Regions from separate parts of the Homo sapiens genome. Here all the other regions are linked to region 3. Evidence: promoter capture Hi-C in human tissues and cell types (Jung and others, 2019). All regions are on one chromosome and are shown on one strand. The core of a region is centred on a gene start or on the middle of the fragment in contact, and the rest is flanking DNA. Distances in the headings are between cores, read along the strand shown. Region 1 overlaps LINC01443 (long intergenic non-protein coding RNA 1443). Region 2 has its middle 16 kb from the start of LINC01443. Region 3 holds the start of MC5R (melanocortin 5 receptor).

What was found. Contacts are between HindIII fragments. The study calls those that stand out against the background at their distance.
Region 1: a fragment that was not itself captured here is called in contact with the fragment with the promoter of MC5R in region 3 in 1 of the 25 tissues and cell types used here (bladder).
Region 2: a fragment that was not itself captured here is called in contact with the fragment with the promoter of MC5R in region 3 in 1 of the 25 tissues and cell types used here (lymphoblastoid cells).

Annotation. Positions count from the first base shown.
Region 1 is chr18:14,957,179-14,960,994 of GRCh38, forward strand. All of the region lies in intron 1 of LINC01443 (long intergenic non-protein coding RNA 1443), which reads left to right. Among named protein-coding and RNA genes, the nearest start is that of LINC01444, 11 kb to the right of the region's middle. The HindIII fragment of the contact is 4,662 bases long and covers 1-3,775 here.
Region 2 is chr18:14,928,068-14,931,945 of GRCh38, forward strand. It overlaps a transcript of ANKRD30B not described here. Among named protein-coding and RNA genes, the nearest start is that of LINC01443, 16 kb to the right of the region's middle. The HindIII fragment of the contact is 4,206 bases long and covers 1-3,878 here.
Region 3 is chr18:13,822,001-13,825,628 of GRCh38, forward strand. It overlaps MC5R (melanocortin 5 receptor), which reads left to right and starts at 2,149. Exons shown (of 2, transcript NM_005913.3): 1 at 2,149-2,274. RefSeq lists silencers at 1,818-1,998, 1,964-2,253, 2,264-2,353. The HindIII fragment of the contact is 21,381 bases long and covers 1-3,628 here.

The sequences.
Region 1 (3,816 bases), core at 195-2,694, 1.1 Mb after region 3:
ATCTAACTCCATTCTGCTCCTTTCTGTGATAGAAATGCTGTTATTTTTCAAGACTATGACTTCACTGTGGAAGGGTGGGTGCACCTATGGCAAGTTAAAACACAAATATTGAGTTCTTGTGGAGATCTAGCCTTTTTTTAATACATGCTTCTAACATTCTTTAAGCCTTTGGTTAATTGCCTATGTTTTGAAAAAGTTGACACTGAATCTGACAATTCTTTTCAGATTTCTGTTGCTTTTATGGAGGGGGAGATTTTCAGAGGCTCTTACTTCATTATTTTTACTAATAAAATTTCACTCTGGTTATTTTAATGAAGAGAATGTAATTTAAAAACTCAATATGCCATATTTAATTGCTTTTAGCAGTTCTGTGATATATAGAGTTGTTCTACATGGGAAGATACTGAGACAAGATACCAGAAAAAATATTAAAACAAAAGTATTGTTATATAAAAGTTGCTTAAAATGCTAAAAGATCATTGATAAGAGGAAAAATGATGTTTGTGCTTAAGATCAGTGAAGTCCAACATGTTCAGTGATGTAGAGATAGATAGACTAAAATTTCCCATGGCCCCATTCACTGGAGGGTTTATTTACTCAAGCTGAGAAGTCGGTAAGACAGGAAGAACGAGGTGATCTTGGAAAGGAGACACCAAGAGGACCAGATTTATTCTCTCAGGAGGACAATGGTCTCTCCTCTTTCATCACTAATCAATGTTCCAGTGGCACCCCAAATGATAGCCTCATTGAGTCCCTCATGATTTCACCATCCCCACTCCTTGGGATGCAGGCATGTGTCACTTTCCCTCCCAGGCCTACAGTGCTGTGCCAGCTTGGTTTCACTTCTCAGACCAACACTTTCCTTAGGGGATGACAAGAGCTGAGGCTCTATATCCACAGGGACTCAATAAATGAAGAATGGAGTCAGTCCAAGAGGCAGAATGACCACTGTGATTCGGGAGATGGAGTCAGCCTTAAACTTAATATGTAGATTCATTGAACAGCTATTGGAGGACTGGCAAAGGAAAAGGGAACACTGAAATAGCAAAAAAAAAAAAAAAAAAAAAAAAAAAAACTCAAGTATTTTTTTCTCTATTAGGAATATGACTACTTCTTGAGATCCTCATAAACATTCAATGAGATAGCATGTAAAGTATTCAGCAATGAGATATCTCAAAAAGATTTACCAATGAAAGATTGTTTACTCTCTTCTTACCACCCATCATGAATAAATTGCTATAAATGTATTACCAATTGTAAATATGCATTCTAAATTTGAAGCTGCTATAATGACTACTGATCCTTTTATCTTTTCCAATGTCATGTGTATACTTTCTTTAGTCATATGATTAGACATTTTTGCATATTTAATTTTATTTTCCTATACCCCAACCCCCTCCTTATCCATGAAAAATATCTTCCTAGACTCCAGTGAATAGCTGAAATTGTGGATAGTACCAAACCCTATATATATATTTTGTTTTTTCTTATATATTCATACCTATGATAAATTTTAATTTATAAATTAAGTACAGAAAGAGATAAACCATAACAACTAATAATAAAATAGAACAATTATGATAATATTTTATAATAAAACTTACATAAACATGGTCTTTCTTTACAAATATATTATTGTACTTAACTCACCTTTCTTCTTGGGCGCTGTCAATCTGATAACCTAGACTGCTGCTATGAAGAGTAAATATGCTGGACAAGGAATGATTCATGTTCCACGTGGGACAGAGCAGGACAGCATGAGATTTTATCATGCTACCAGAAAGGCATGCAGTTTAGAACTTGTAAATTGTTTATCTCTAGAATTTTCTATTTAATATTTTTGAATCTCGTTGACCAGAGGTAATTGAAATCACAGAAGGAAAACCTCAAGTACAGGGAAGTACTGCATTAGGTTTGGCTTAAATCAAACTCCATTTACTGATGAGTTGGGCAGTTGGGAGAGGGAGTGGGTGTCCATCTAGGAATGCGTTCTCTCAGATCAGGACCATGAATGGAACTGTGCGACGTTTGGTTCATGTTTATTACTGCTTAGAAATGTCTTCAAAGCTCAATCATAGGAATAATGTCAACCCTAACTGCAGCAGTAATTAATACTTCTCTTTTTGTTGGTATTAACTTTATTACTTATTTTATAGTATTGGCCTTATCGTAAATGTTTTTGTTATAAGACAGATCTCATCCTTTTTTGGGGTTTGGGAGGTGGGAACAGTAGAACATGAAGATACATAATAAGTCCCATACAATAGTTAATAATAAGTCACCAACAGGATTATTCCTAACTCCAGCCCTCCAAATGCTGGGGCATGGATGTATGTGTGCAGGAATGGCATCAGACTAGACACAGACTGGCACAGAGCCTGCCAAGGTGAAGACAATGCACCTTATAAAACAGTTACAGTAACATCTATTGCATACATGAAAACAATTTGCAGCAGATTAAATACCCTTAAGAAAGGAGGCTACCAGACGAACCACCTCAACACCAAAGCAGGGTTTGGTCGGCATCTGACAGCGCTGTGGACAGTGGCCAGATGTGGCCCAGCGGCTCTCCTTGGATCTGACAGCACTGTGGACAGTGGCCAGATGTGGCCCCAGCAATCTGACAGCGCTGCGGACAGTGGCCAGATGTGGCCCAGCGGCTCTCCTCGGGCTGTTTCTTCCAGGAGCATGAGCTTCTTCTCTATTTCGGTGAGATTCTCTGCCTGAGTTGGCGTTCTGAGGAGCATTCAGAAATTGTTTGTTCTGAATTTCTAAAACACGAACTATTAGAAAAGGACAAAAAAAATCTACAGACTGTGGGAAAAGTTAGTGTCAAACAAATACAAAAAGGAAAAGTTGAGAACAGCAAATGGTGGCTGTGTTATGTGGAAGTGACAGAGTTGAAAAATGATGCATTGATAAAGGGACAAAAAAAATCCGGAGGAGGAGGAGAAGCAGGAGGAGAAGGAGAAGGAGGAGAAGGAAGCTAAAATAACCATTCTTGGTTTGATCTGGATTTATGTTTCTTCTTCATTAGGTTTGTTTATTGCAGCATTTCTGCCATGGTGAACTAAGTGCTCTCCATTTTTCCCTATCAGTTTCTTCTTATCCAGAGACCCTGGAGTCTTTGCCCAGGGGCCACTGCCTGGTGATGAAAGTCATATTGTTCAGCTTCCATAAACAACCTCCACTCTCATGATTAGCATTGGAAAATCAGCTGAATCTTAGCCTTTAGCTTCACAGTGTATGTCTATCTGTCTGTTTTATTTTTACAAAAGGCGGGGAAAAATTAAATACTTAAAAATAACAATTGAGTAATTTCAACAAAAGATTGTGATCAGATCAGGCTCTTGGGGAATGCAGAATCAGGACCTCTCCCTACTCTTCTCACCACTAATTGTTGCCATGCAAAGTATCGTATACTTTAATTGTCTGAGTATTTAAATCTACCCACTAAGCATATTTCTTTGTTTCTATAAAATGAAATGAGCAGATTTATGGACAGATGTATGAGTTTGTCTCAGGGTCTAGAAATCTTTTTTTCTTTCTCTCTTCCACCTAGGTCCAAGTCTATAATTTAAGTTTTAAACTTTCTAAATAAAAAGTTGATTTTAAATTTAGCATTAGCAGAAGGTCAGCAGCAATTGGTAGTGTTGGCTTGATGCTGGGGGAGAGGTAAAGGGTTGGTGTGACAAAAGTGGTGAAGGGATGGGTTGGGAGGCCATGTGGGTGAGAGGAAGGTAAGGAGGGAGGAAGCCTGTGCCTTCTGTTGGCAAGATCTGCTGTTCTTAAAACATCACTTTGAGTTATTGAATG
Region 2 (3,878 bases), core at 555-3,054, 1.1 Mb after region 3:
AGCGATTCTCCTGCCTCAGCTTCCTGAGTAGCTGGGATTACAGGCACCTGCCACCATGCCTGGCTAATTTTTGTATTTTTAGTAGAGACAGAGTTTCAGCATGCTGGCCAGGCTGGTCTCTAACTCCCGACCTCAGGCGATCTGCCTGCCTCGGCGTCCCAAAGTGCTGGGATTACAGGCGCGAGTCACCACGCCTGGCCATGTGATGTTAATTTTATGTGTCAGCCTCATTGGGCCATAGGGTGCCCAAAACAGATATTTAGTTAAACATATTTCTGGATGAATCTGTGAGGATGTTTCTGGATGATAGAAGCATTTGAACTGGTAGGCCGAATGACGAAGATTGCCTTTCCCGATGTGGCTTGGAATCACCCAATCAGCTGATGGCCTCAACAGAAAGAACAAAGTGGTGGAGGAAGGAGAACACATTTTCTCTGTCAGATGGCCCGAGTAGGGACATTGGTCTTCCCCTGCCCTCAGGCCAGAAGTTCACTATCAGCGATCCTGTTCTCCGGCCTTGGAACTGGAACTGGAACTTGTACCACTGGTTATTCTGGTTCACAGGGCTACCACTGGTCTCCTGAGTCTCCAGATTGCAGATGGAAGACTGTGAGACTTTTCAGTCTCTATAATCCTCAACCTTTCCCTCTGCCTCTCCCTCCTCTATTGGTACTGTTTCTGGAGAACCCTGACTAATATGTTAATCATGTTCTGTCAAATTTTGGTGATATATTTTTCTTAAATCTGTCTCATTGACTATTCTCAAAATCTGCCGAGTGGGGCCATTCATTGTTTCTCAGCTGAAGGACTGCAGTCACTTTTAGGTACTTCCCTACCTTTGGTCATGCGTCTCTATTCTTCATCCTTTACACAGCTGCCATTCCAGTCTTTCTAAACTAGAACTATTCCTCTGATTAAAAATGAAACAAAGCTTATTGTGACTGTAATGAAATCTGTGTACTGGACTTCTGTTGGCTCTGTGGTTCTCAGCAGCCTACCAGAACACAGAGCTTTCCAAACTCAGCCCTGGGCACATCTGTTCCTTCATCCAGGCTTTCCACCCTGCGTGGCTCTCACCCTTGTGTGTCCGTCCTTGTTTCTTAGAGGAGTCGTGTGCCTCCAAATGCATATGCCTACGACCTTTTCTTTCTCTTGCCTGAAATGCCAAACTTCATTCTCCATCAGGTGAATTCCAACTCACCCCTGAAGATGAGCTCAACTGTCTCTCTTGTGTGAAGCCTTCCCTGACACCCCTGAGAATTTTCCATCCACGTCACCACAGAGTAATGTCCATCCTCCTGTAGAACCATTCACTCATCACAGGTCTGGATGCCCATTGTTCATAGGAGGTCTTCCCCACTAGACTTCAAAGCTTCAGTGATAGGCGCTTGTGTCCCTGGCCTACACGAGGCCCTTATTCCCACTGCTCTTTTTTGAAAAAATAATAGTTTCTTCAGGCCTATATAAGCTCAAAGAGATCCCAGAGGACAATGAGTCCAATTTTTTTACTTTCCAGAATAGGATACTGGGATATTTTAATTCATGGAATTATTCTAGCATCAAACTTTACATAATAAGTATTCGTTGAGGACTTGGAGTGTACCTGTTTCTAGGTTCTAGGGAAACAGGATTGACTATGACGGGCAAAGTTACTGCCCCATGGAGTTCACCATTTGGGGATTGGTGGGTGGATAACAACGGCAACTACAAGATATGTGCATGCATGTGTGTGTGTATGTGTGTGTGCATTTCATATAGTGCTAGGTGTAATAGATAAACGAAGGTGGTGACTGGGGAAATGATCCAGGAGAAATCTCTGAGGAAATGACATTTCATCTCACAGGGTAATGAGGAAAATGAGGCAGCCAGATGGAGTCCCAGCAAAAGCAGACTTCAGGCAGAAGGAACGGCAAGTCCAGGGCTCTGGATGAGTAAGTGGCTTCCCTCACAGGTAGATGGGAAGGGGTCATGTGAGGATACTTCAGCCATGTTAGATGAATGTATTGCCTTAAGAACATCCTGAGATAAAGGGTGGCATATGCAGGTGTGTGGCTCAGGTGAGTGAATAGGGGGAAGAAGCAGGACACTGGCTCGCCAGGTGGGTTCCTCCAGAAGGCAGGCTGCATCTGCCAGGGTCCATCCCAGGCCAGTCCCTGAGAGGCTGGGCCGACAGAGAAGGATGGTGACCTGGGCCTGGATTGTCAGTGAGGCCTTCCTTGAGTGAAATATACACTAAATGGTCTCAGAAGGCCGCACAAGGGCAGGGCAGTGAGTTTCTGGGAGGAAGGTGGGTGGTGGGTGGGGTGCAGAGCCTGGGGCAGAGGGACTCCTCTGAAGTTAAATTAATGCAACTGACCCACCCCTCAAATGATTTCAGGCCATGGTCTTCTCTGATGAGGACTCCATCCCTGTAAGAAAACTAAAGAGCTGGAGAGTGGAGAGGAAGGAGAGTGTGGGATGTGAATTCTAAGCTATCAAAGAGGTTCTGCTTCCTCTAAGGCCATGGACGCTGGGTGTGCTATGGGGTAGACACACCACACTCCTATTGTCCAGCCACCTATTATACCTTCCACACCCAGGAAGTGCTGAGGCCCTTCCTGGAGTCTCCCCAACCCACACAACTGAAACAGCATGGGGTGTCCACAGGCCCTATCCACTAGGATGGCTCCTTCCCCAGCACGGTGGCTGAGCTTCCTGAGAATGATGCATCCTCGTGGCTCTGCTGGTCCTCACAGATCTCCAGGTAGAAGCTCATTGTAGAATAGCATTTGCCTTGAATGCTCTGATAATTTTCTGCTAACCTAGTTGTGGCTAATTAAAGTCAGGAGTTTGGTGCTGGCCTCACTTTGGTGCTTGGAAAACTGGGGACATTGTACTCAGCAGAGAAGTCATTGGAAATACAGACTTGCCAGTCCTACCACAGAAGATGATGATTTAGTAGAGTTATGCTGGCCCAGCAATCAGCATTTACAGAAGCATTCCTGGAGATTCCGTGATTGTGCTGCGAGGTGGCATTTGGCAGCCCTGCACCCAGAGCCCTGAAGCTCTCTTCAGCAGTAATGACCTGCCAGGCTACTGTCTTTAGTGACAGGGGATGCTACGAAGAGTGTGCATCACCCAAATGACAGCTCACCATTGACTCTTAAGATGGAAGAGACTTTAGAGGCTCTTTAGTCCAAACCTCTCATTTTTCAAATGAGGCAGAAGTGTCCTAGAGTGGAAATGTGACTTACCCAAGGTCACACACCAGAGACTAAAAATTCTAGAACAAGGACGAGTATTTTGATCTCCAGTGATCTGGAAAACTCTGCATGTCAAACACCCATTTCTGTTCCCAGCATCTGGTAACCCCTTAATTCCTGGTCACCTCCACCCCTCCTCAATGCCCAGACTTTCCGTCACATGGAAACCCACTAGGCTTTTGACCTCACATGCTGTTTCAGCAGGCATCCCCCTGTGCTGACCTTAGCTCTAGCAGTGTAAGGCGGAGCTGCCCTCCCTGAACTGACAGAGGAGGCTACAGTGTGTTGTGTGGGTGTGGGAGGCTCCAGGAAGGGCCTCAGTGCTCCCTGCGCATGGAACATAAAATAGGCAGCTGGACAACAGGAGTGTGGTGTGTGCCCCACAGCGCACACAGCATCCATGGCCTTAGGCGAAGTACAGCCCCTTTTGATAGCTCAGAATTCACGTTCCACACCCTCCCTCCTCTCTCAATCCAGCTCCTCAGTTTTCTTACAGGGATGGAGTCCTGAACAGAGAAGACTCTGGCCTGAAACCATTTGAGGGCAGAGCAGTGGCATTAGTTCAACTTCAGAGGAGGCCCTCTGTCCCAGGCCCCCCACCCCACCTCCCTCCTGCTCTGTCCCGGGCCCCCCACC
Region 3 (3,628 bases), core at 899-3,398:
GGAGAAACCCACTTCTAGGGTTTCGTAAAGGTTGAGGAAGGTAATTCCTGTGCAGCACTCAGGGTCACCCCTGCACATAGGGCCCCTGGGCCAGCCGCCCTCACCACTGTGGGAGGCCGCCTGCTGTGGTCCAGCTGCTCATCTTGCACAGAGCCCTCCATTTTGAGCACTTTCCTGGGACACCAGGACCTTTTGCAGAGCCCTCTCTGATCTGATCTTGGATGTGAGGACTATATGTGGGAGTGCTTGACCCTGCTGATGTTTTCAACACACGGAAATGGGTTCCCTCCCTCACACCACATTCCCAATATGTATTCTCAACATTCAGAACCTCCTTCTAGAATTCCACCCTGTGGCTCCCAGCACGGCTTGGGACTCCAGTGGCGTGAGGCCAGCCAGACTGTGGTCCCCACACTTGAAATACTGGAAGGTTGTGATCATCTGCAAAGCCCAAGGAAAGCTCTGGTAGTGATATGGCCCCGTGCATCCTGCCCTGGCTTGCAGGGCAGTGGCACTTCTGCTTATTGTGAGTATAATGATTCTTTTGGGGGTTGAAGGTCAGTTTTAGGTGTCAGAGAAGGAGTGGGGTCCAGAAACTATTGCGAAAGGCCAGGATATTTGGTGAGAGGACATCCTTTGTTCTTTTTTGCTGGAGTAAGGAAAGCCTGTGTGGTTGATAAAGCCTGGCATGGCATGTGTAGTCCTGGAGGAGGGGTGAGAGCCTTGGGCAAAGAGGGGCGTGGTAGGGCCACAGATGAGGGCTCCCAGGCACTGGGCCTCCTTCCCAAAGAACAATCATCAGGACATCCCAGAGACCACTGTCCAGGAGAAACGGGGTGACAAGCCCTCTTTGAGCTCGGGAGCATTTTAATCAGTGCTCAAGAGGAAGAGAAAAGAAACAAAAAGTGCAACCAGCCAGAAAAACAACCAAGCAGCTACCCACCCAACCACCCATCCACCCACCCACTGACCCAACCAACCACTCCCCCACCCAACCACCTATCCATCCACCCACCGACCCAACCAACCAACCAACCAACCACCCACACAACCACCCATCCACCCAACCCACTGACCCAACCAACCAAACCAAGCAACCACCCACCCAACCACCCATCCACCCACCCACTGACCCAACCAACCTAGCAACCACTCACCCAACCACCCATCCATCCACCCACTGACCCAGCCAACCAACCAACCAACCAACCACCCTCCCAACCACCCATCCACCCACCCACTGACCCAACCAACCAACCAAGCAACCACCCACCCAACGACCCACCCACCCACCCACTGACCCAACCAACCAACCAAGCAACCACCCACCACCCACCCACCCACTGACCCAACCAACCAACCAAGCAACCACCCACCTACCCAACCAACCCCCACTTACCCAATCAACCAACCAAGCAACCATCCACTCACCCAACCAACCACCCACCCACCCAAGCAACCAATCAACGAACCAAGCAACCACCCACCTACCCAACCAACTACCCCCCACCCACCCAAGCAAGCGAGCAAGCGAGCAAGCAACCAAGTAACCATCTACTCACTCAACCAAGCAACCACCCACCTACCCAACCAACCAATCAACCAACCAAGCAACCACCCACCTACCCAACCAACCAATCAACCAACCAAGGAACCACCCACCTACCCAATCAACGAACCCCCCACCCAACCAGCCAAGCAACCAAGTAACCATCCACTCACCTAACCAATCAACCAATCAACCAATCAGGCAACCACCCACCTACCCAACTAACTAACCCGTAACCACCCAACCAACCAAGCAAGCAACCACCTGCTCACCCAACCAACCAATCACCAAACAAGCAACCACCCACCCACCCACTCAACCAACCAACTACCCAACCAAGCAACCACTCACCCAACCAACCATTCAACCGACCGACCGACCGACCGACCGACCCACCGACCCGACCGACCAACCAACCAACCAAGCAACCATCCAACCATTCAAGAGTGTGTTCGGGGGGATTTTCGCTCGGGGCTGACGCGGTTCTCTGGCCGCTGTGCCGTGCTGGGCCACTAGGTGGCAGCGGAGGCCGCCCGGAGCGACAGCCGGCGGTGCGGAGGCGGGCCCGGCGCGGGCAGGCAGGAGGCTTAAAGCCCCGCAGAGCCGCAGCCGCCTAGCTGGGGGAGAGGCCCGTCCGGGGCTGGCTCTGAGCGCCGCACGGCCGTCGGATCCCGGGGACGCCGGGGGCCCGGGCTGAGCGCCGCGGCCCGCGAGGAGGAGCACCGGTAAATAGCCACAACTTTCTATCTCCTTGAGATCCTGAGAATAAATGCAAAATCGCGCTTCCGCTGCATGTGGAAGTGAGCGGGGCGGCAGCTAGCTTGCCCCGTGAGTTTTTAACACAGCTCGATATGATGTTTAGTATAATTGCATAATTTACCGATATATCTGAGCTGGAACTCAGCTGTAACAAATGATTGTAGTTCAATAAATGCTTAGATTACCAATTTTTTCCTTTTTTATTTTTATAGATTTAGGGGGTACAGGTGCTGTTTTGTTATATGGATGTATTGCATAGTGGTGGAGACTGGGCTTTTAGTGTAGCCATCACCCCTATAGTGTACATTGTACCTATTAAGTAATTTGTTGTCCCTCACCCCCTCCCTCCCTCCCAAAGTGATTACAAATATTAATGATGACAGTGATGACAGAAATTCTCTCCAGATGTGATCTGAGTTTGGAGGGCAAAGGGATTTTTGAAAATGAATCATAAGAGAGAAATTTTGCAACAAAGGAGTGTGGTACATTTAAATTGCTGTTTTTTTTTTTAAATACTGTGCTCACGCGGACCTAATAAACTATCAAGCAGACCTCATGGAATTCCACATAATGCAGAAGCGAGGGAAAAATAGGTATTGAGGGAAAAGCAGCACTGTTTTCCTCAATTTTAACACGTATGTGCAGCCTACACTTACAAACTTAAGACAGTAGCTTTTAACATGTGACTTTGCTCAGGGTAACAGACCATTCTGGTTATAGCCTTACTTACAGCTGTGGAGGCTGAATCCTGATGGGTCTAAGAAGTGTCAGGACAAGTGTTAGGGATGCACCTGTCTGTCTGTCTTAAGGGAATACGGGTCTGGGCAGTCTTAAATCGGAGCTCCCTTGAGGAGAATGTCGTGCAGTAGCCTTAGGAATGTGAACATTGGGAGACTGGCTGGGATTTTGTAGGTTATGAGTTGGGGACACTTATGATAGTGAACTTGAGCCCAGGAGAGAAGCCATAAAAAGTGAAACTGTCCTGGGCACTTGGAGGTGAGTGTCTCTCTAGTAAGATGCATGTGAAAGGCTGGGAGCTGAAAGCAAGGAGAGCAGAAGAGGCTGGTGAAGATTCTAATCTGCGTGTCCAGGGGCACTCTTCCAGGTCTCAGGAACGCAGGTCAGAATGTGCAAGCCAGCTGCCGGGCACGTGGCTCACCCCTGTAGTACCAGCACTTTGGGAGGCTGAGAGAGAAGATCGCTTGTGGCCAGGAGTTTGAGACCAGACTGGGCAACATAGGGAGACCCTGTCTCTTAAAAAAAAAAAAAAAAAAGGACTGAGTGAGCCGAGCCCAGTCCTCTGATGCACTGTGTCATTCA